Linked DNA regions of Homo sapiens: regions 2, 3, 4, 5 and 6 are each linked to region 1. Evidence: promoter capture Hi-C in 16 types of primary human blood cells and fetal thymus (Javierre and others, 2016). All regions are on one chromosome and are shown on one strand. The core of a region is centred on a gene start or on the middle of the fragment in contact, and the rest is flanking DNA. Distances in the headings are between cores, read along the strand shown.

What was found. The method cuts DNA at HindIII sites, captures the fragments that hold promoters and counts their contacts. A CHiCAGO score of 5 or more calls a contact.
Region 2: a contact is called between a fragment that was not itself captured here and the fragment with the promoter of YPEL4 in region 1, in 5 of 17 cell types (total CD4 T cells, naive CD8 T cells, total CD8 T cells and 2 more). The highest score is 10.6, in total CD4 T cells.
Region 3: a fragment that was not itself captured here is called in contact with the fragment with the promoter of YPEL4 in region 1 in 5 of 17 cell types (naive CD8 T cells, total CD4 T cells, naive CD4 T cells and 2 more); the score reaches 7.6 in naive CD8 T cells.
Region 4: a contact is called between a fragment that was not itself captured here and the fragment with the promoter of YPEL4 in region 1, in 4 of 17 cell types (naive CD8 T cells, total CD4 T cells, non-activated CD4 T cells and 1 more). The highest score is 7.5, in naive CD8 T cells.
Region 5: a fragment that was not itself captured here is called in contact with the fragment with the promoter of YPEL4 in region 1 in 11 of 17 cell types (naive CD8 T cells, non-activated CD4 T cells, neutrophils and 8 more); the score reaches 21.4 in naive CD8 T cells.
Region 6: a contact is called between a fragment that was not itself captured here and the fragment with the promoter of YPEL4 in region 1, in 8 of 17 cell types (total CD8 T cells, naive CD8 T cells, total CD4 T cells and 5 more). The highest score is 11.4, in total CD8 T cells.

Annotation. Positions count from the first base shown.
Region 1 is chr11:57,648,336-57,651,575 of GRCh38, forward strand. YPEL4 (yippee like 4) reads right to left here and starts at 1,577. Exons shown (of 5, transcript NM_145008.3): 1 at 1,350-1,577. It overlaps MIR130AHG (MIR130A host gene), which reads left to right. Exons shown (of 2, transcript NR_186232.1): 2 at 1,963-3,240. RefSeq lists an enhancer at 1-88. The HindIII fragment of the contact is 14,007 bases long and covers 1-3,240 here.
Region 2 is chr11:58,640,464-58,643,703 of GRCh38, forward strand. No RefSeq gene overlaps it. Among named protein-coding and RNA genes, the nearest start is that of CNTF, 19 kb to the left of the region's middle. The HindIII fragment of the contact is 4,055 bases long and covers 1-3,240 here.
Region 3 is chr11:58,623,707-58,626,946 of GRCh38, forward strand. It overlaps CNTF (ciliary neurotrophic factor), which reads left to right. Exons shown (of 2, transcript NM_000614.4): 2 at 328-2,027. The coding sequence ends at 816. It overlaps ZFP91-CNTF (ZFP91-CNTF readthrough (NMD candidate)), which reads left to right. Exons shown (of 13, transcript NR_024091.1): 13 at 328-2,027. Among named protein-coding and RNA genes, the nearest start is that of CNTF, 2.7 kb to the left of the region's middle. The HindIII fragment of the contact is 2,434 bases long and covers 447-2,880 here.
Region 4 is chr11:58,600,357-58,603,596 of GRCh38, forward strand. All of the region lies in intron 2 of ZFP91 (ZFP91 zinc finger protein, atypical E3 ubiquitin ligase), which reads left to right. The region is part of intron 2 of ZFP91-CNTF (ZFP91-CNTF readthrough (NMD candidate)); the gene reads left to right. Among named protein-coding and RNA genes, the nearest start is that of CNTF, 21 kb to the right of the region's middle. The HindIII fragment of the contact is 3,643 bases long and covers 1-3,240 here.
Region 5 is chr11:58,568,465-58,571,704 of GRCh38, forward strand. It overlaps LPXN (leupaxin), which reads right to left. Exons shown (of 9, transcript NM_004811.3): 2 at 2,092-2,249. Among named protein-coding and RNA genes, the nearest start is that of LPXN, 5.8 kb to the right of the region's middle. The HindIII fragment of the contact is 6,686 bases long and covers 1-3,240 here.
Region 6 is chr11:58,550,281-58,553,520 of GRCh38, forward strand. LPXN (leupaxin) reads right to left here. Exons shown (of 9, transcript NM_004811.3): 5 at 785-952. Among named protein-coding and RNA genes, the nearest start is that of LPXN, 24 kb to the right of the region's middle. The HindIII fragment of the contact is 2,421 bases long and covers 291-2,711 here.

The DNA.
Region 1 (3,240 bases), core at 327-2,826:
ATTAGGAATAGAGGAAGATTGCCTTCTGCCCACGCGCCAGCCTCCGAGTGGCTGAAGGTGCTGGAGGCAGAGGATAAGAAGGGAGGTGGCCCCTGTTGGCTCCGATAAGCAGGTGAGCTGCTGCTTTCTCCTTCATAGGGCTTCCCAGCCCACTGTGGGTGGTTAGCCTAAGTCTGGTTCAGAGATGCCAGCTGGGCACTCTGGCAATGCTAGAGCACTAAGCAGAGAAGAGGCAGTGTTGGCTCTGGTTAGCCAGGGCATACAGGCTCTCCTCGTCCTGTCCTCCGCAGTGGCCACAGGCACCCAGCTGTTCCACTCTCTCTGAAGGCCGCCAGGCAGTCTCTCCGCAAAACCTCCATAGAGACTATCTTCAGTTTCAGGTCCTCTCCTCCGGGCTGGGTCCCAGGAAGACACCTTGGGCTGAGTTCAGGGTGACATTGGGCTCCGGCTGCAGGAAACGGGCCCTCCTTGCCAAGAGACCACCTTTCAGTCTCTGCTTCACAGGTTTGCCTTCAACTTTGCCAGCGAGTTCCCCTCTGACATGCACCACCTTGAAACACCTTCTTCAAGGGGCATGGAGAATGGGGCAGCTTGGGTCCCCAATCCTGAGCTCCTTCTCCAGCCTCCGGCCGTCACGCCTCCCTCCCTCTCCCCTAATTCCCAGTCAAGCCAAGGAAAGGCTGCACAGAAGGCCAGAGAATCACAAAGGGGAGTAGGGGTCATTTTTTCACCCATCTCGGATCACAGGGAGAAGCAAGTTGGGCAAATGACTGGAGAAAAAACAAAGGCAAGCCGAGTGCTGGGGAGAGATGTTCCCCTGAAGTGAGACGGGGCTGGACCGTAGGAGAAAGGGGAGAGGGAGGGCTGGCGGGGGCAACTGACAGCTGACAGCAGAGGCGCCGAGGCGGAGGCTGGAGGAACCAGGTGCGAATCTCGTGCTTCTCAGGGGGGAAAAGAAAAGGGGGGGGACACCTGCTCACAATGGATTTTCTCATCTGCTCTGAGGTTTTGGCACCCCCCAGGCTGGTATTCTCAGTATGGTATGGTCCAAATAATTAGCAGCACCGCCAGCTCCCAGGGCAGGCTTTGGGGGTCTGCACCAGCAGCAAAACAATAAACAGTGATGCCTGATGCTGCAGCCAAAGTTGCCGGGAAATAAGTGCGGGAATCGTCAGAGCTTGGAGAGGGATGGAGGAACCGAGAGAGAGGAGCGGAGGCAGCGGGGAGGGGGAAGGGAGGACAAAGGGTGGATGAATAATGCTTTTGCAAAGGGGAGAAAGCAACACGCAGCAGGAGGAGGAAATTTGCAAAGAGAAAAAAATTCATTTGGAGAAGGGCTGCCCCCTCACCTTGAGGTCTGCTCCAGAGATCTCCGTCTATCTCTCTCTCTCTCTCTCAATCTCTCAATCTCTCTGCTCACTCTTCTCTCTTCTCTTTCCGCTCCTTCAATTGGGAAGGGGATGGGGGTGGGTGGGGGGAGGGTAGTTGGGGGCTCAAGACTGGGGCTGCAAAGCTGGCCAGCTGCTGGGGGGGCAGAGGTTGTCTCTCGTTCTGTACCTCGGTCTGTGGGTGAATGTGGCTGTGTGTTGTGGAACTGCATCATAACACTGTGAGTCATCCATCCCCCCCACCCCCCCTCACCTCCCACGTCAGAGCAGGGCTGGGAGACACAGGAGGCGGGTCGGAAGGAAGGGAGGGGGTAGGCATCAAGGGACGGGGCTAGAGGAGTGGGGGCCGAGGGACAAGGCGGCGATGGTGGGCAAGGGGAGAGGCAGGTTGTTAAGGAGGAAGGCAGTGGGGCCAAGGAGATACGAAGAACCTGGGGGAAGGACAGGGCTGGGCAAGGATGCAGTGAGGGTGGCAGGGCTGGAGGAAAGGAGGTGGCAAGGCTGGTGAAGGAAGAGATGGATGCAGAGTGAGGGAGCACACACACATTTAAGATGATACACTTTCCCATTTCAGCTTGGACACCAGCCCTGAAGCAGGGAAAAGACAGATGTACTAATTGTCATGGATGGCAAACTGTGCCCCCAAACTTGTACCAAGCCTCAAAGCCTTGGTTTAATACTCCTGAAGGAGTAATAGACCCAATGTGACATTTTGCATGCAGGAACCCCTTAACAGCTACCTCCATATTATGCGTGCTTCATGAATGGAGACACCTACGTTATATGAAGTTCTCTATTGGGCTGTAAACTTCCTGAGACAGGCCTTCTGGGAAATTACTCTCTACATCCCAGGACTGCAATGTCCAGTGCAGACCCGTGCATTTAGATGTTTCCAAAATAGCAGTTGTTTCCGCGGCATTATGTTCTGCTGGCCTAGAGGTCTTAGTTCCAGAGGGAGGAATGCTGCCACCAAGAGACACAACAATGATTCCATTAAACTGGAAGTTAAGATTGCCACCTGGCCACTTTGGGCTCTTCTTACTTTTAAGCCAACTTGCTAAGAAGGGAGTTACAGTGTTTGACCCAGACTATCAAGATGAAATCAGTCTACTACTCCACAATGGCGGTAAGGAAGTATGCGTGGAATACAGGAGATCACGTAGGGCGTCTCTTAATATTACCATGCCCTGTGATTAAGGTCAATGGGAAACTGCAACAGCCCAATCCAGGCAGGATGACAAATGGCCCAGACCCTTCAGGAATGAAGGTTTGGGTCACTCCACCAGGTAAAAAAAACATAATCTGCTGAGGTGCTTGCTGAAGGCAAACGGAATTCAGAATGGGTAGTCAAAGAAGGTAGTCATCAATACGAACTATGACCATGTGACCAGCTGCAGAAAATGAGGACTGTAATTGTCATGAGTATTTCCTCCTCCTTTTGTTAGGAACATGTTTGTGCATATATACACTTGTATTAAGAAAATATCTTCATTTTATTTCCTTTCTTTTGCCTTTATCATGTGACATAAGACTTACTGACTTGATATCAGCACTTAAGTGTTGTTAACTCTATGTAATAGCATTTGGGTTGGGGATTGGTGCGTTTCCGGTTGTACAAAGGATAGCTGTATTATGTTAAGCGTAATTATGACCTTATTATTGTCTTTATTTGAAGATCATGTATGATTTCAGGAGACGTGTATGGGTTCAAGTTGACAAGGGGTGGACTGGTGATGGTTAATATTGTCAACTAGATTGGATTGAAAGATGCAAAGTATTGTTCCTGGGTGTGTCTGTGAGGGTATTGCCAAAGGCGATTAACATTTGAGTCAATGGACTAGGAAAGGCAGAC
Region 2 (3,240 bases), core at 258-2,757, 990 kb after region 1:
CCAACAGGAGGAGGGCAAGGAAAACTCTCTGAGGATGTTTTGTTTTCAGCCCTGGGCAGCATTTGCTGAGCTGGGAGATTAGGAGGCATCATTTGGTGCCCAGTACTCACATCCCCCAATTGTTCAGAGGCAGTGTAAGGACGATGCAGGCAAGACAGTCTTCAGAGTCAGATGCCAAGTCCTCATGTGACCTTAGAAAAGAAGTGTGACTTCCTGTAAAACAGGAACAAACAGGACTTTTTAGCTGTTAACTTAAAAAAATTACAACACATGCTTGTTATGGAAAATTAAAAGTGTAAAGAGGTTATATAAGGTAAAAAATACCTTCTTCATCCAGCTGTGCTTCCCAGAGATAACCACTGTAAATAGGAGGTGTGTCACCTTCCAGACATGTTTCTATGTGTGCACACATGGACCCAGGCACATAGGCACATACTACTTTCTTTTACAAAAATATAATAGTGCCAGGCCATATATACTTTTGCCTATGGAGAAGCTGATTCCCAGAGAAAAGAAGTGATGTGCACAAGGTCACACAAAGACAGATTGGAGCAGAGATGGCCCTGACCCTGTGTCTCTTGCCTGTATTTCCAGACTCAGACCGCCTCCTACCCTGCCTCACTCTCTTGGGCTGTGTGCATTCTAATTGAGCACCATAGGGGATACAAATGCAGACAATTATTCTGGCAGATAGTCAAGGGCAATAGTCAAAATATTTACTACTCTGCAAGTTGCAGCCCCAGCCAATCAGAACTAACATTGGCTGCAAATGACCTTCCTGAGGTTACTGGCTAAATATTGGCCCTGCATGTAGGAGTCTCATTTCACACCCTACATATCTCTCCACGGATGGCTGGGAAGGAATCCATGAATGAATAAATGAGGATGCAAAGTGATCTGAAATAATATCGCAAAGGAAGAAAAACTTCTTTCAATAGAAGTGTAATGTTATCAACTGCAGTGTTATCTGCCTATATATTTTTACAATCAGAGCCCTGTGAAAGGAGAAGAGGCAATAATAGAAAATGAAGGAAATAGAAAGGAGATGTTTATTGGAGTTCAACAGAACTGGACTCGAGATATGGCTCTGCGCTTAGTGGCTCTCAGACCCTGGGCAAGTGACTTAATCTCCTTGACTTTTTTTTTTTTTTTCCTGTAAACATCTGTGAATGTGAGGAGGAGAGGCACAAAAAGTAACTTAACCATGATTATACTAATTAAGGGACAGATAGGCTGAGGGGTCTGAGGGACTTTTAGTCTAGTGGGCTTATAATTTAATGTCAGGGGTAGCCCAGGGATCCTGAATTTTGCCAACAGAAAAATCATGAGATCTATGCAGATTTGGACACAGGACTTTATTTCTCATAAAGGGTTATAGCCTGCCAATGGTCATCCTGACAGGCTGAGAAGTGTACCTTCAACAGAGACCGAAAGGCAGTACTTTGAAGAAGGAGGGGTTGAGGCAGGAGCTTTATGCTACATAGGTTGGCTAAATATACATATTCAACAGGTTACAGGAGAAGCTATGAATATTCACCAAGTGGTTTCTGATGCATGCATACTGAATAAACATGCATGCTACAAATGATCTATGTTCATATTGGAGAGGGTACTTAACATTTAAATTTATTACAATGAGGCTGTCTATATTTCAGAAGATAAAACAGGGACATAAATGTTCTCAAGTGCAAAGCCTCTATAAAACCGACCAGAACCAGTCCATAGTCGGTGGTCTTTTACCAGGAAAGTTACTGAAATCTCTTTCTTGTCTAATCAAAGCTGTAGTTATGGCTTGTGGAACAGGAGGTCGGTTAGTCAGCACATGGTGGTGAATGAGCTGCAGTTATTTTAATATTGCTTTCCTTGAGGCCAGTGCTTGTTGAGCTGCTTAAGAAAGAAAAACCTTGTGGCAGTTAAAACAAAGTTTATTCTTTAAGTGTAGGGGTGCGTGACTTAACCTTTGCCTGACATGGGCGTAGGTCCTGTTTATAATTGGATATCTTACTGCCACAAAGAGTCTGTTCTGTCAGTCATATGATCTCTATTTTAACATTCATGCTGGTCAGTTGGTGTGTCTGTATACAAAAGGGAGAGGATATAACGAGGCTTGTGTGATCTCTTGTCTCCTTATGGCCAGGAACTCCATTTTTAAGGTTTCTCTGAGGTCTCCTTGGCCAAGAGAGAGTCTGTTCAATTGGTTGGGGTGGGTGCTTAAGGTTTAAATTTTAGTTCTCAATCCCATATAGGGTCTTGAGACCTTTCTCATCCTCGATTCAATCTGAGGGCAATTCTGAGTTAAATCTCCAAATAACTTCTATTCTCTCCTTGTGCACCTCATCTCTACCCCAACATACACAGGAGAAGATCACCTGAACAATAAACTTGTAGGTTTAAAGAAACTACTAGGCACCTGGCAATCCCTTGCTTCCTGCAGTCTTCCTGTCTTTCTTGAGATACTTTTTCTTAAGGATTTCTCATGGGTCTGCCTCACTTGACAATGGATATATATACTCTCAGTATTTAGCGTGGAGAAGACCCAGACTCATGAAAGAGATGCAGAGAACTAGCAGGGAGAGACAGAGACAGAGACAGAGAAAAGCCATGACTAGCATCACTAAATTAACCATGTCCTCGAGACTCATAATTCATACCATCGTTATATGTTCTCTAGGTAATTTCTGCAACCTTCCAACAAGTATTCCCATCTCCTGAAGGACAGCTGGGATCATGGCAAACTCTGAGACAAAAACCTGCAGTGGCTCGTTGTTTATAGCATTGGCTCCCAATTAAGCCTGTTAAAAATAGAGGTTTTGGGTTTCAATGTATGGAACTTTAGAAGACGAGTTCTGAGAACTAAAACTATCTACGCCCTACAGAGCTTCTACATCAACGTGACATTACTATAACACTGTCTTCACTAGCATAACTTTACCATTCCAGTGACCGTTACATGGAAAAATGGCTCGATTATTCATTATAGGAATTTCCCAAAATATCCATCAACTCTTCAATGAAAAGTATCAACAGTTTTTACCTTTGAATCTCTTGCCTTGCCTTGCTTTTCCCACCAATCTTAAACTTCCATGTTGTGATTTTTGCCCTTTTCAAATCAAGACCTCCCCACTCTCTCCACGGAGGGAAGTGGCTTAAATGAAACTTAAATTCTCAATAAATTCTAACCTTGCTTTCTGAGATACTGCCAAATCTCTGCTGAAATGGTGTTTTCCCTATCTCATCAAC
Region 3 (3,240 bases), core at 414-2,913, 980 kb after region 1:
ATATGATTAAAATATTCCAGTTAATGAGAGAGTTTGAAGTGAGAAGGAAAAATTCTTCTAAATCAGTTTTCAACCTTTAGAACTCAATAAAATCTGAACATTCTTCTAAGAAAAATCCATAGGTAGTCAATTTCAGGCAGTATTGGGTCTTTCTAAAGTCCAGTCATAGAGCCCAAATTAAGAGTTCCTACTGTAGACATATTATTTACTTTACAACTTGGATCCTTGGCCAGAGAGATGAGTGAGATTTTGTATGAAATTTAGGGGTGATTTAAGGACACTGGGGTGATGACAGAAGATGTGGTGTTTTCCTGTATCCTCGGCCAGGTGAAGCATCAGGGCCTGAACAAGAACATCAACCTGGACTCTGCGGATGGGATGCCAGTGGCAAGCACTGATCAGTGGAGTGAGCTGACCGAGGCAGAGCGACTCCAAGAGAACCTTCAAGCTTATCGTACCTTCCATGTTTTGTTGGCCAGGCTCTTAGAAGACCAGCAGGTGCATTTTACCCCAACCGAAGGTGACTTCCATCAAGCTATACATACCCTTCTTCTCCAAGTCGCTGCCTTTGCATACCAGATAGAGGAGTTAATGATACTCCTGGAATACAAGATCCCCCGCAATGAGGCTGATGGGATGCCTATTAATGTTGGAGATGGTGGTCTCTTTGAGAAGAAGCTGTGGGGCCTAAAGGTGCTGCAGGAGCTTTCACAGTGGACAGTAAGGTCCATCCATGACCTTCGTTTCATTTCTTCTCATCAGACTGGGATCCCAGCACGTGGGAGCCATTATATTGCTAACAACAAGAAAATGTAGCAGTTAGTCCCTTCTCTCTTCCTTGCTTTCTCTTCTAATGGAATATGCGTAGTTCCCTGGGGCCTCGCTTTCCCATCTTAAATTTCTAAAAACAGTTAAGACAACAGGCATTTTCTTTCTTTTTTCTCTGACCACCTGCAGCCTGTTGAAGGACTACAGGTATTTTCATCAAGTAGCGTTGGAGACATACACAAATGGGCATACAAGTTTAGCCTGGGGGGTGTGATTTGTGTGCGTGCTTGCATGTGCTGCAGGTGTAAGAGAGTGGGAGCAGGGACAACGTCCTTCCACTTCAGGGTTCTAACCTTTCTAACCCACTAAGTAACCTCTACAGGCATTTAACTGCCTTACAGACAGAATATACATATGTTAATTCTAGTCCTGGATGACTCGGTCTGAGAAGATTCAATTTAAAATCAGACTCTTTAGTTGATTTAAACTCTTAGAGAATAAGAATAATAATGGCTAACTTTTATTATCTTCTATATTAAGGCAGTATGCCAAGGGTCTTTATGTATATTATGTACAGCGTTTACAACCTTGTGAGCAAGGTGGTGTTACTCCCATTAGGTAGATGAGAAAACAGGCTCACAGAGATTTGGTTAAGCTCACACAGCTAACAAGTAGCACACTGAGTTTGAACACAGATCATTCTCCTTGTAAAAGCCTATGTGCCTTTCACTTTAGAGGCTTGATCATGAATCACTGCACCTCTTTGTCACAGGGTGTTGGAAGATGCATCCATGTAATCTATTCCCATCGCTGGAAAACAGCTGCTGTTAGATGTCCTCAGAAGTCAGTTGCAAATTTTAGCGTTAAAGTCAGGATTTATTGTTCATACTTGGCGGTGAGGAGGGCAGCTGGAGATCTTAAGATTCCATTTTGGAAAATGATTAGGCCCGCCAAACTTCTGAACTTTGGAAGCTGGGGATGTTTAGTAATACAGCCTGGTTTTTAAGTACTCACTAAAAGTTCTCAAATATTGGGTTGGGCACGGCTTATACCAGGTTACCTCACTTTTAATTAGTGATGCAGGCAGTGTAACCCAAGCATTTGTGGACAATGAGTGGAATACTAAAGTTAAAAAGTCAAACTTTCACCTCAGATTTTCTGGACTTAGTCATGAGGAGAGGGTGAGGCCCACTCTGTTCCTACTGGAGATACCAGAGACTCTGAAACTATAGAATAAAGCCTCTGTGCTGCACAACAAAGGGGCAGGCTCTGCTTTTATTTCTTGTAAGAACCAACATAGTATGAAAGGTTGGTCAATGCGGACATTAATGGAAAAGGCCATGTACTGGTGGTGTGATGTGAATCCAGAAATTTTCAAGTGTGTCATTTATTTTATACTTATCAATTAAAACTCAAGATCATGGATTGGGAGACCAAGTTAATTTAATTAACTGGGGCTTCTGTATTCGTAAATGAACCATGAGTCAGGGCTAACTCCCATAGGTTTCATGAGGTGTGGATGAGTAGCTTAGCTTGTATCCTTTCTCACATGGGTGTGTGTACAAAACTCCATGAAGTCACTATTACCAGAGTACTCTGGGCTAGGCATTGTAACAGTTCAGGGAAAGTAAGGCCCTGCTTTCTAATATGCATTTGTGGCAATATGGTTGTGAGTGTGTATACACACACACGTACATTACTGTGATCAGTGATGCAGACAGTGTAACCCAAGCCTTTGTGGACAGTGAGTGGAATACTACTCAAGTTAAAAAGTCACAGAACTCCTTCACCTCACATTCTCTGGACTTAGTCATGAGGAGAGGGTGAGGCCTACTCTGTTCTCACTGGAGATACCAGAGATTCTGTAAACACACAAACACACACACACACACACACACACACACATAGTCGAAATTATAAGTCCCAGGTTTGTTAGGAAGCTAAAGGAAGGAGAGGGGCCCAAAGTAGTTTCCCGGAGGAGGTAGGAGTTGTGTCTCAGTACAAAACTACAAAATACTCTGTACTGGTTGAGTACAAAAGAGAAGTCATGAGAGAAGGGAAGAGGTGATCATTTGTAATTTTGGCACTGAATGTATAGTCTTATTCCATTCAAGCTTTCTCTTAATTCTGCTTAACAGCAGCATTCTCAAATAATAAAATTTCTGCTTATTAATATGAAGCTCTTAGAGCTATCTGGATAATACTTCTGTTCAATGGAGAAATATGTCTACAATTTCTTAATGGGGAATAACTGACTATGAATTTGCTGCATCTAAAATGACCCCATCAATTATACATGTAAAAATAAATTTTTGAAATTTTTTAAATAAAAAATTAAAAGATGTTGCCCCCATACTCCCTCCATCAAAAATGTTTTTAAAAAATGAGTGTCCCCTCTCCAAGTGTTTTTATGTTCAGCAGGTACAGCAGCAGACATCTGCAGAAGTTTCAGAACTCAGTGGAGCTTGGCTT
Region 4 (3,240 bases), core at 302-2,801, 950 kb after region 1:
TTTTGTTCATTGCTAATATACTTAAAACAATGAATGTTATATGTTGGTCATATATTCTGGCACTTTGAATAAAGGTAATAATTATTTTCTTAATTTCCTTTTTGTTCATTGCTAATATGCTTAAAACAATGAATGTTACGTGTTGGTATTATATTCTGGCCCTTCGAATTTGTATATGACCTTTAACAGTTTTCTTTTGTGAAAATTCTTTAGAATTTTCTATATGTAAGGTCTTTTCACCTGCAAATAGAGATACAGTTTTACTTCTTCCTTTTCACTTTGGGTGCCTCTTTTTTTACTTGAGTAATTACTTGGCTAGAACTTCCAGTACAGTGTTGAATGGAAGTGAAGAATGAGGGCATCCTTGTCTTGTTCCTGACCTTAGCAGGAGAGCTTTGTCTTTTACCACTGCGTATGATGTGAGCTCTGGGGTTTTTAAAGGTGTTCTTTGTCAAGTTGAGGAAGTTCAATTCTATTCCCAGTTTTTTGTGTGTTCTTATCATGAAAGTTTAATTTTGTCAGGTTCTTTTTCTTTTTTCTACATCAATTGAGATAATGGTGTGTTTTTTCCTCTCTTTATTAATGTGGGATATTACATATGTTTTTGTATATCGAACCACCCTCATAATCCTGGGACCTGTCTCAATTGATTATAGTGTTTAATCTTCTTAATATGATGCTATATTTGGTTTGCAAGGGATATTGGCTTATGGTTTTTTGTGGTGTCTTTGTCTGGCTTTGGTGTCAGAATAATGCTGTGTTTATAGGATGTGTTGGGAAGTGTTCCATCTTCTATTTTTTAAGAGAGTTTGAGGAAGACTGGAGTTAATTCTTTAAATGTGTGGTAGAATCAACCAATGAAACCATCTAGAGGCTTCTGGCCTTTTTATTGGGAGCTTTTTGTTTACTGACTCAGTTGTCTACTTGTTAAAGATATGTTCATCTTTTCCATTTCTTGTTGAATTGTTTTTGGTAATTTGTGTGTGCCTAAGAAGTTGTTGATTTCATCTATGTTATTTGTTGGCAAACAGTTGTTCATTGTGTTTTCTTATGTTTATTTCAGTGGTAGTGTCCCATTTTCATTTCTGGTTTTAGTAATTTGGGTCTTCTCTTATTAACCAAAAGTTTGTTGATTTTGTTATCTTGTCAAAGAACCAACTTATTTACTTTATTCTGCTAGCTTTGGGTTTACTCTGCTCCTTTTTTCCTAGCTCTTATGGGTATGATGTTAGGTTATTGATTCAGGCATGTGATTTTTTTTTTTTTCTATTTTAATGTAGGCATTTATATCTAGAAATTTTACTCTGAGAACTGCTTTCACTGCATCCCCTAGGTTTTGGGATATTTTGTTTTCATTTTCAGTCATCTCTAAGTATTTTGTAATTTTCCTTGTGATTTATTCTTTGATCCATTGGTTTAACAGTGTGTTAATTTTCATGTATTTGTGAGTTTTCTAGTTTTCCTTCTGATATTGATTTCTAGTTTCATTCAATTGTGGTCAGAGAGAACGTACTTTATATGACTGCAGCCATTTGAAATTTATTGAGACTTTTCAATATGTCTGTGAATTTTTTTTTTCCCCCAAGATGGAGTCTCGTTCTATCGCCCAGGCTGGAGTGCAGTGGTGTGATCTTGGCTCAATGCAACCTCCACCTCCTGGGTTCAAGCAGTTCTCCTGCCTCAGCGTCCTCGAGTAGCTGGGACTACAGACACACGCCACCATGCCCGGCTAATTTTTGTATTCTTAGTAGAGACAGGGTTTCGCCATGTTGGCCAGGCTGATCTCAAACTCCTGACCTCAGGTGATCTGCCTGCCTCAGCCTCCCAAAGTGTTGGGATTACAGGTGTGAGCCACTGCGCCTGGCCCAATATGTCTGTTTTTTAACATTATGTCTAATTTTGTCTAATATGTCTAATTTTTTAATTTTGCTTGAGTTCTGTATTTCCTTATCAAACTTCTGACTGGTGTTTGGTTCTGTTATTGAAAGTGGGATACAGATGTCTCCATTTTTGTGATTGTGGTATTACCTGTTTCTCTTCAGTTCTGTAAATCTTTGCTATGTATGTTATATGTTGATATATCTCGAGAGAGAGATGGGGGGAGAGGGAGAGGGGGCCTGTGTTAGCTATGTATAGGTTTATATTTATTATATTTTCTAGATTGATTGACCCTCTCATTAACGTATAATGTTCTTTGTGTTTTGTAACAGTTGTTGAAGTGCATTTTGCCTGATATTAGTAGGGCCACCTTTACGAGTTGAATTGCTTTCCTCAAAAGATGTTGAAGTCTTAACTCAGGTACCTGTGAATGGAACATTGAGAAATAGGGGCTTTGTAGTAAATAGGCTTTTGTGGTAATTTGTTATGGCAGCCCTAGGAAACTAATACATTTTGGTATTGGAAGTGGGCTATGAAAAAGTACCTAAAAATGTTGGCATAGCTTTGGGATTGGGTAATGGATATTGGCTTTGAGTATTTTGAGGTATGGTGCATGCCTCTAATCCCAGCTATACTCGGGAGGCTGAGGCAGGAGAATTGCTTGAACCTAGGAGGCGATGATTGCGGTGAGCCAAGATTGCGCCGTTGCACTCCAGCCTGGGCAACAAGAGTGAAACTCTGTCTCAAAAAAAAAGAAAAGAAAAAACAGCGTAGATTGCCTTGAAGAGATGGTCAACAGAAATATGAGTGTTAAAGGCAGTCTGATGAGGCCTTAGAAGGAAATGATGAACATGTTATTGGACAGTGGAGAAAAGGTGATCCTTGTTATAAAGTTGCAGAGAACTTGACTGAATTGTGTTCTATCATTGGGTAAGCAATGAACTTGGATATTTATCTGAGTAGATTTACAAACAACGTGTAGAAGGTATAGCCTTGTTTCTTCTTGCTTATATACTAATGTGTGAGAGGAAAGATATAAATTGAGGAATGAATTGTTTAGCAAAAAGGAGCCAGCACTTGATAATTTGAAAATTTTTTAGTCTGTCCAAATAGTGTATTGTGGTACAGGACCAAGGCTGTGACTGGACAGCTATTCTCTAAAGAGACTTGGTATATAACTTGTGGATCGAATCAGCCATCTCAGCACTTCCCAGAATAGACATGCAATTTTTCAGGAAAGATCTGTGGAGGACTCTCATTTGGTGGCTTCGACCCCCTGAATTTCATGAAAGACTGACAAAGTTTTTGAGAATGTTGTGACAGCAGAAACACTGCCAGGCTGGCCTGAATGGGACAGAGACA
Region 5 (3,240 bases), core at 368-2,867, 920 kb after region 1:
TGGTGGTGCATGCCTGTAGTCCCAGATACTCAGGAGGCTGAGGCAGGAGAATCACTTGAACCTGGGAGGCAGAGGTGGCAGTGAGCCAAGATTGCACCACTGCACTCCAGCCTGCACGACAGAAAGAGACTCCATCTCAAAAAAAAAAAAAAGAGCACTGTTCACTGAATATGTGTTTCATACGCTGCTAGATGAGACCATGGAAGAAGCTGGAAGGAGGTCTGTTAAGCCATAGTGGCTTACTTAATGCAAATACTGATAAGAAAACTTTAAATAAAATTGAAGATCTGGGGTAAAAAGTAAAGTTAATAGGATGTGAGAAAAACAAGCATAAACCCAGGACTCTTTCAGGTAAACCAGGATATATGGTCACCCCAGAAAGATCAACATGAAACTATGGCTTTTACTCCAAATGAGATGGGAGTCATTTTGGGGTTTTGAGTAGAAGAATGACAGGGTCTGACTTTAGTTTTTAAAGGTGACCCTGGCTGCTTGAGAACAGACTGCAGTGGGGCAAAGGGCAGGAGACCACTTAGGAGCCTACAGCTATAATCTAACACTGAGAACAAAGACAATAGTTCCCTAGTAGAGAGATAAATTCGTATCGTTAAAATTGTGTATGTGTCTGGAGAAAAGAACAGTTAGGGCGTAAACTACCCCTGAGCTCAAATTTCAGGTCTGTGCTTCTGGCTATTTCATACAGGGAACAATGATGAATCAAAATATCATAGTACAAAATTACCAGCTATGAAGAGCATCTACTTAATTCATCTTACACTAATTCCATTCTCATCAAGCAACCTTTTAATTATAATGTACGTCCATATAGACTTATCCATAGGAAGAGAATGCATATATGAGTAAATATAGCTGTTTTACTTGATAGCTTTAACTGTAAATTTGATTTCTGAGTTTTGTTTTTTTTTTGTTTGTTTGTTTTTTGAGACAAGCTCTCATTCTGTCGCCCAGGCTGGGATGGAGTGGCGCAATCATAGCTCACTGCAGCCTCGACCACCTGGGCTTAAGCAATCCTCCTGCTTCAGCCACCTGAGTGGCGGGGACCATAGGCACGCACCACCACACCCTGCTCATTTTTTAATTTTTCGTAGAGATGGGGGTCTCACCATATGGCCCAGGCTGGTCTCAAACTCCTGGCTTCAAGTGATCCCCCCGCCTCAGCCTTCCAAAGTGCTGAAATTACAGGCCTGAGCCACTGCACCTGCCCTAGGTTTTTAAAATATATATATAATCACTTGTCAATTTGGTTAGTTTGAGTTGGTTCCCTAGAGCTTCATCATCTCTATATAAACTAATAATTGAATCTCCTAATCTATTCAGCAGAAAATAAGACCTGGGAAGTAGTGACCCTAAAAAGTCACCCTGAGAAGACTTGTCTATGCTGCCACCTGGCCTTCCTCAGGTGATCTCTGGCCTGAGTACCATTCCAGTCAAACTGCAACAGGCATCTCTGATGCCCCCACAGTAACATCAGAATATCCCCAGTGAATGCAATACTCTGCCTGTGACCATGTGCTCATTAGAAAAAATGTAGTTCTCGGCTGGGCGTGATGGCTCATGCCTGTAATCCCAGCAATTTGGGAGGCCAAGGCGGGTGAATCACCTCAGGTCAGGAGTTTGAGACCAGCCTGGCCAACATGACAAAACCCGTCTCTACTAAAAATACAAAAATTAGCTGGGCATGGTGGTGCGTGCCTGTAATCCTAGCTATTTGGGAGGCTGAAGCAGGAGAATCGCTTGAACCTGGGAGGTGAAGGTTGCAGTGAGCCGAGATTGTGCCACTGCACTCCAGCCTTGGAGACAGAGTGTGACTCTGTCTCAAAAAATAAAAAAAAAATAAAAAAAATAAAAAAAATAAAAAAAATTTAGTTCTCAAAAACTCATTCCTCTGTGATGATTTTCTCAATTCTCTTCCTCTTTCCAAAAACATCTTTAGATTAACATTGAGGCATTATTTTTTCTCTTTCTTGGATATATTATTCTCCTTTCATATTATTTTATGTGGGATTCTGTTAATTTTCAGAAATGCACTCAAACATCCATGTTTAAGGACTATAATAAATGAAAATTTACCGGCAAGGGACTTGTGTTATCCTGAATAGAAAGGATCTCCGAAGTCTCATCAAGGTTAGTCTCCTTTCTGGAATGCTGATCCAGGGGAAGAGGAGCTGGGTTGGAATATTCATCACTGTCCTGAAGGGTGGAGCGTTCCAGTTCCTCCAATAAGGCATCTACACCATAAGAAGCAAGAGAATCATGACAGAGAATATTTAAATCCCTACAGTCATTTTCTCCTTAAATATCTTCACTGTGCCCACATTCATCTCCTTTTCTTCAATTATGGCTATTTTCAAATACTTTCCCTTATTCCTTATTTCACTTCAAGAATGTGGTGAATCCTACCAAGAAATGTTTAACACCTCCATAAATTGTGGTTTGTTTCTTATTTTCTATGGTTGCATTCAATTTCATAGTCTCATGCTATAATTTGATTTTTTATACCACAGGTATTAATTTTCATCATTCATTTAGGGTAGATTCCCCACAAATATCCTTAATTAGAAAAAAATAAAACTGGGCTGGGTATAGTGGCTTATGCCCATAATCTTAGCACTTTGGAAGGCTGAGGCGGGAGGATCCCTTGAGCCTAGGAGTTCCAGACCAGGGCAACATAGCAAAATCCAGTCTGTATGAAAAATACAAAAAAGTCAGCCCAGCATGGTGATGCACACCTGTGGTCCCAGCTACTTGGGAGGCTGAGGTGGGAGGATCACCTGAGCCTAGGTGAGCCTGCGATGAGTCGAGATCACGCCACCACACTCCAGCAGCCTGGGCCAAAGGAGTGATACCCTGTCTCAAAAAATAAATAAATAAATAAATAAATAAATAAATAAATAAATCCTAAATGCTTTTTTCTATCAGAAAAATAGAAGCAATTATATTACCATTTTTCAAAACATACGAGGGAAATAACACTTATTCTTAATCCTAATGATATTTTTTCTTAAATCTTAACAATTATCCTGAGCACGTAACAAAATTTTCAAAGCAAGGTATAAGTATCCTGTCTTTTAGGGTGTGGAGAGAAAAAATGGTTGGGGATAAAACTGAGATATTGCAAAATCAAGTAAGATGTTGCAATTTAAATAGTTGGGATTTGTTACTCTTTCAGTTTTTTTTCTTTTTTTTTTTTTGGAAAAGTATTATATACTAGTATCTATC
Region 6 (3,240 bases), core at 251-2,750, 900 kb after region 1:
GCCTAGACCTAGGTTCCACCTAAGGCCATCTGTGGTCTGTGCTTTATGGATTGATAATAAAAGGATGCCCACTTCCGGGACTGATCACTGTGATGAAAGCCTGTAAATGTTCACAACCACTGCACTGCCACAGGGGGTGGCAGAAACAACATATAGCACATTGATGACAGAGAAGTTGTAACTGTAGCCTTAGTGTGGAAGGGACCCCTGGAAGAGGAAAAGGCCAAATGACAGTTTTTATTCCTCTAGTTTGAACACTTTATTCCACGCCCCATGCAGTCAGGTCTCAAAGCTTTTTATCATAGCTTCGGTGAAGGACGATGCAGAACAGGAGTTTGCAGCTGTGACTTGGAGCTGAGTTCAGCTGAAAATTGTAATCAATCAATTTAGACTGGGAATGTGTGAACAAAGGGAGCAGTGAGAAAGGTCATCTCAGTAAAGGCAGTACAGAAAAATGGTCAAGAACTCAAACTCAGGAGACAGTCTCCTGGTTTCAGATCTTACCTCTACCTCTTATTATGCCTTGGATATGTCCATTAATGTCTCTGAGTCCTCAGTTTCCTCATCTTTACAAAGGGAGCAATCATTCTTCTTGAAGGGCTGATGTGACCATTAAATGAGGAAATACTTGTAAAGCACTTAGCTCAGTGGCCAGAGCACTGTAAGTGATTAGTAATTATTAATGCTAACTAAAATATCTTAAAATATAAGGGGAAAGAGCAAACCTTGATGAGACAGAGAGAGACAAAGAAGGCTGTAGGACCAAAATTTCAGCCCATCTCACCTTCCCAGCAATCGGTTTCTGGCAGGATGCACAATGGCCCTTGGGCACTGTGGCAATGCCAAGGTCCTGCAATTCCTGCTCCAGACCCCCAAGCATTGAGTCCAGGGAGGCCTTGTGATCCTGCTTGTCTGGTAAGTGCTTCTTGCCAGCATCTGCTCTCACTGCAACCTGGCCCAAGGGAAGAACCAAGAACAGAATCAGCCTCATTTTTATTCTCATTGGCATCTTCTAATGACTCTATAAATTCACCTCTACTGACTGATCTCTTGGCCTTTCCCCAACCTTCCTGCAAGACATTGGAAAAATCTAAAATTTCAACACCAATAAAAATCTTTTCATCTCCCTTTCATCCTAAACTCCTCAGGCCAAATGAAATCTGACTAATTTTATATTTGTAAATCTTTTCTTAATGTAGGAAATTTAGTACATGAAGATGATACCCTTTGAAGATCTTAGGATGACCCCAGTTCAAAAATTAGTCACATCTCCCTTTTACTCATTTATTTGGCAATAATTGTTGAATACCTGGTTTGTGCCAATCACTGCTCTAAGCACTTGGATTAAAGCAAAGATAAGACAGACCAAGTGTCTGGCCTCATGGAATTGCATTCTGTGGGCGATAGACAATAAATAATTAAATAAATAAATATATGTTGTAATGTCAGACAGAGATAAGTTATAGAAAGAGATAGAAGGGACACAGCAAGATGGTAAGAAGAATTGATTTAGATGGAGGTAATAATCAAAGAAGGCCCCTCTAAGGAAGTAATATTTGAGTAGATACTTGGGACTTAGAAATATTGACATTTATGGGAAAAGCATTCTAGGGGAAGGGAAGGCCCCGAGGAATAAAACAACTTGGCACATTAGAAGAAAAGTCAAAGAGGTCAGTGGGGCTAGAGCAGAGGGAGTGAGATTGAACACGGCAGGAGAAGGTGATGGAGAGAGAGGCAAAGATCACATAGGAACCTCATGGTAAACGCTTGGGTTTTATTCCAAGGTGATGGAAGCCATTGCAGGATTTCAAGCACAGGAGTGAAGGAATCTGGAGGATCCCTGTGGTAGCTGAGTGGAGAACTAAGTGTTGACAAGCAAGAGTGAATACAGGGAGATTTTCAGATAATGACTTAGATCAGTATTACAGGAGAAGGTGGTGAGAAGTGGTCAGATAAGACTTGTTGATGGATTGGAATTATTTAAGCAAAAGCCCAAAATTATTATAAACCATTCAAAGAAGGATCCTCAAATTAAAAGAAAAAAAAAAAAGGCTAACTGACCCTTCATAACCTCATAACCTGATTCTGGCTCTCTCTACTCCTTTCCAGCTGGGCGACTGCTACCATCTATCTACTGAATACTTCACTCATCAGAAAACTACAATGGCTCTCCATTGCCACCACATCAAGTCTTCACTCATCAGACAGACATTCAAAGCCTCCCATCCACTGTCCTCCCTTTTTATCTTTCCCAATTTCATCTTTTATTAATACTATGTTGTAAAAGGACAGCTGGGCTCTTCATCTCCTGAATGTGATCTGTTACTGTCTGCCTTAAGACCTCTACTTATCCTACTTTTACTGCCTGTTATAACATCACACTGTCACCAATCAAAATGCTCATTTTGCTTCGAGACATTTTGATCATCTGACAGACATCCTTCCTTCTCTAATATATGTTAGTTAATATTCAAGAGGTTAGTGTTCAGAAGGTTAGTGTCTGAAAGGTCTGAAAGGGTGACTGACATTAATTATGAAAAATAAGTAAAAATACAATATAACTACATCTACACCTACATCTCTATCTCTTCACTGTTATCTTCCAGAATACTTCTGAACAGATATAGAAGAGACAGGAAATTCTGCCTATCTCCGGTGGGGCAGAACTGGATGGCTAGGGTGCAGAGCTGAGAAGGAAACAGTTCAGTGCAAGCTTTTTGCACTTTTGATTTGTGTACAATGTGAAAGTGCAGCTTATTCAAAAGATAAATGGGGCCGGGCACAGTGGTTCATGCCTGTAATCCTAGTACTTTGAGAGGCCGAGGCAGACAGGTGGCCTGAGCTTAGAAGTTTGAGACCAGTCTGGGCAACATAGCAAAACCTCGTCTCTACTAAAAATACAAAAATTAGCTGGGCATGGTGGCACACGCCTGTAATCACAGCTACTCAGGAGGCTGAGGCACTAGAATCGCTTGAACCCAGGAGGTGGAGGTTGCAGTGAGCCGAGATCATGCCACTGCACTCCAGGCTGGGTAACCGAGTAAGAATCTGTCTCAAAAAAAAAAAAAAAAAAAAAGATGGTGTTGTAAATTAAAAATTTAAATCAACCAATACACAAGCTAAATCAACTAGAAACGCAACACAATTAAATCTAATGTACATTTTTTCTAGTATTTTCAGATATACAGCATAATGAGCCAATCTACCCAGCTTTATTGTAGACACTGGCCCATCAAAGGA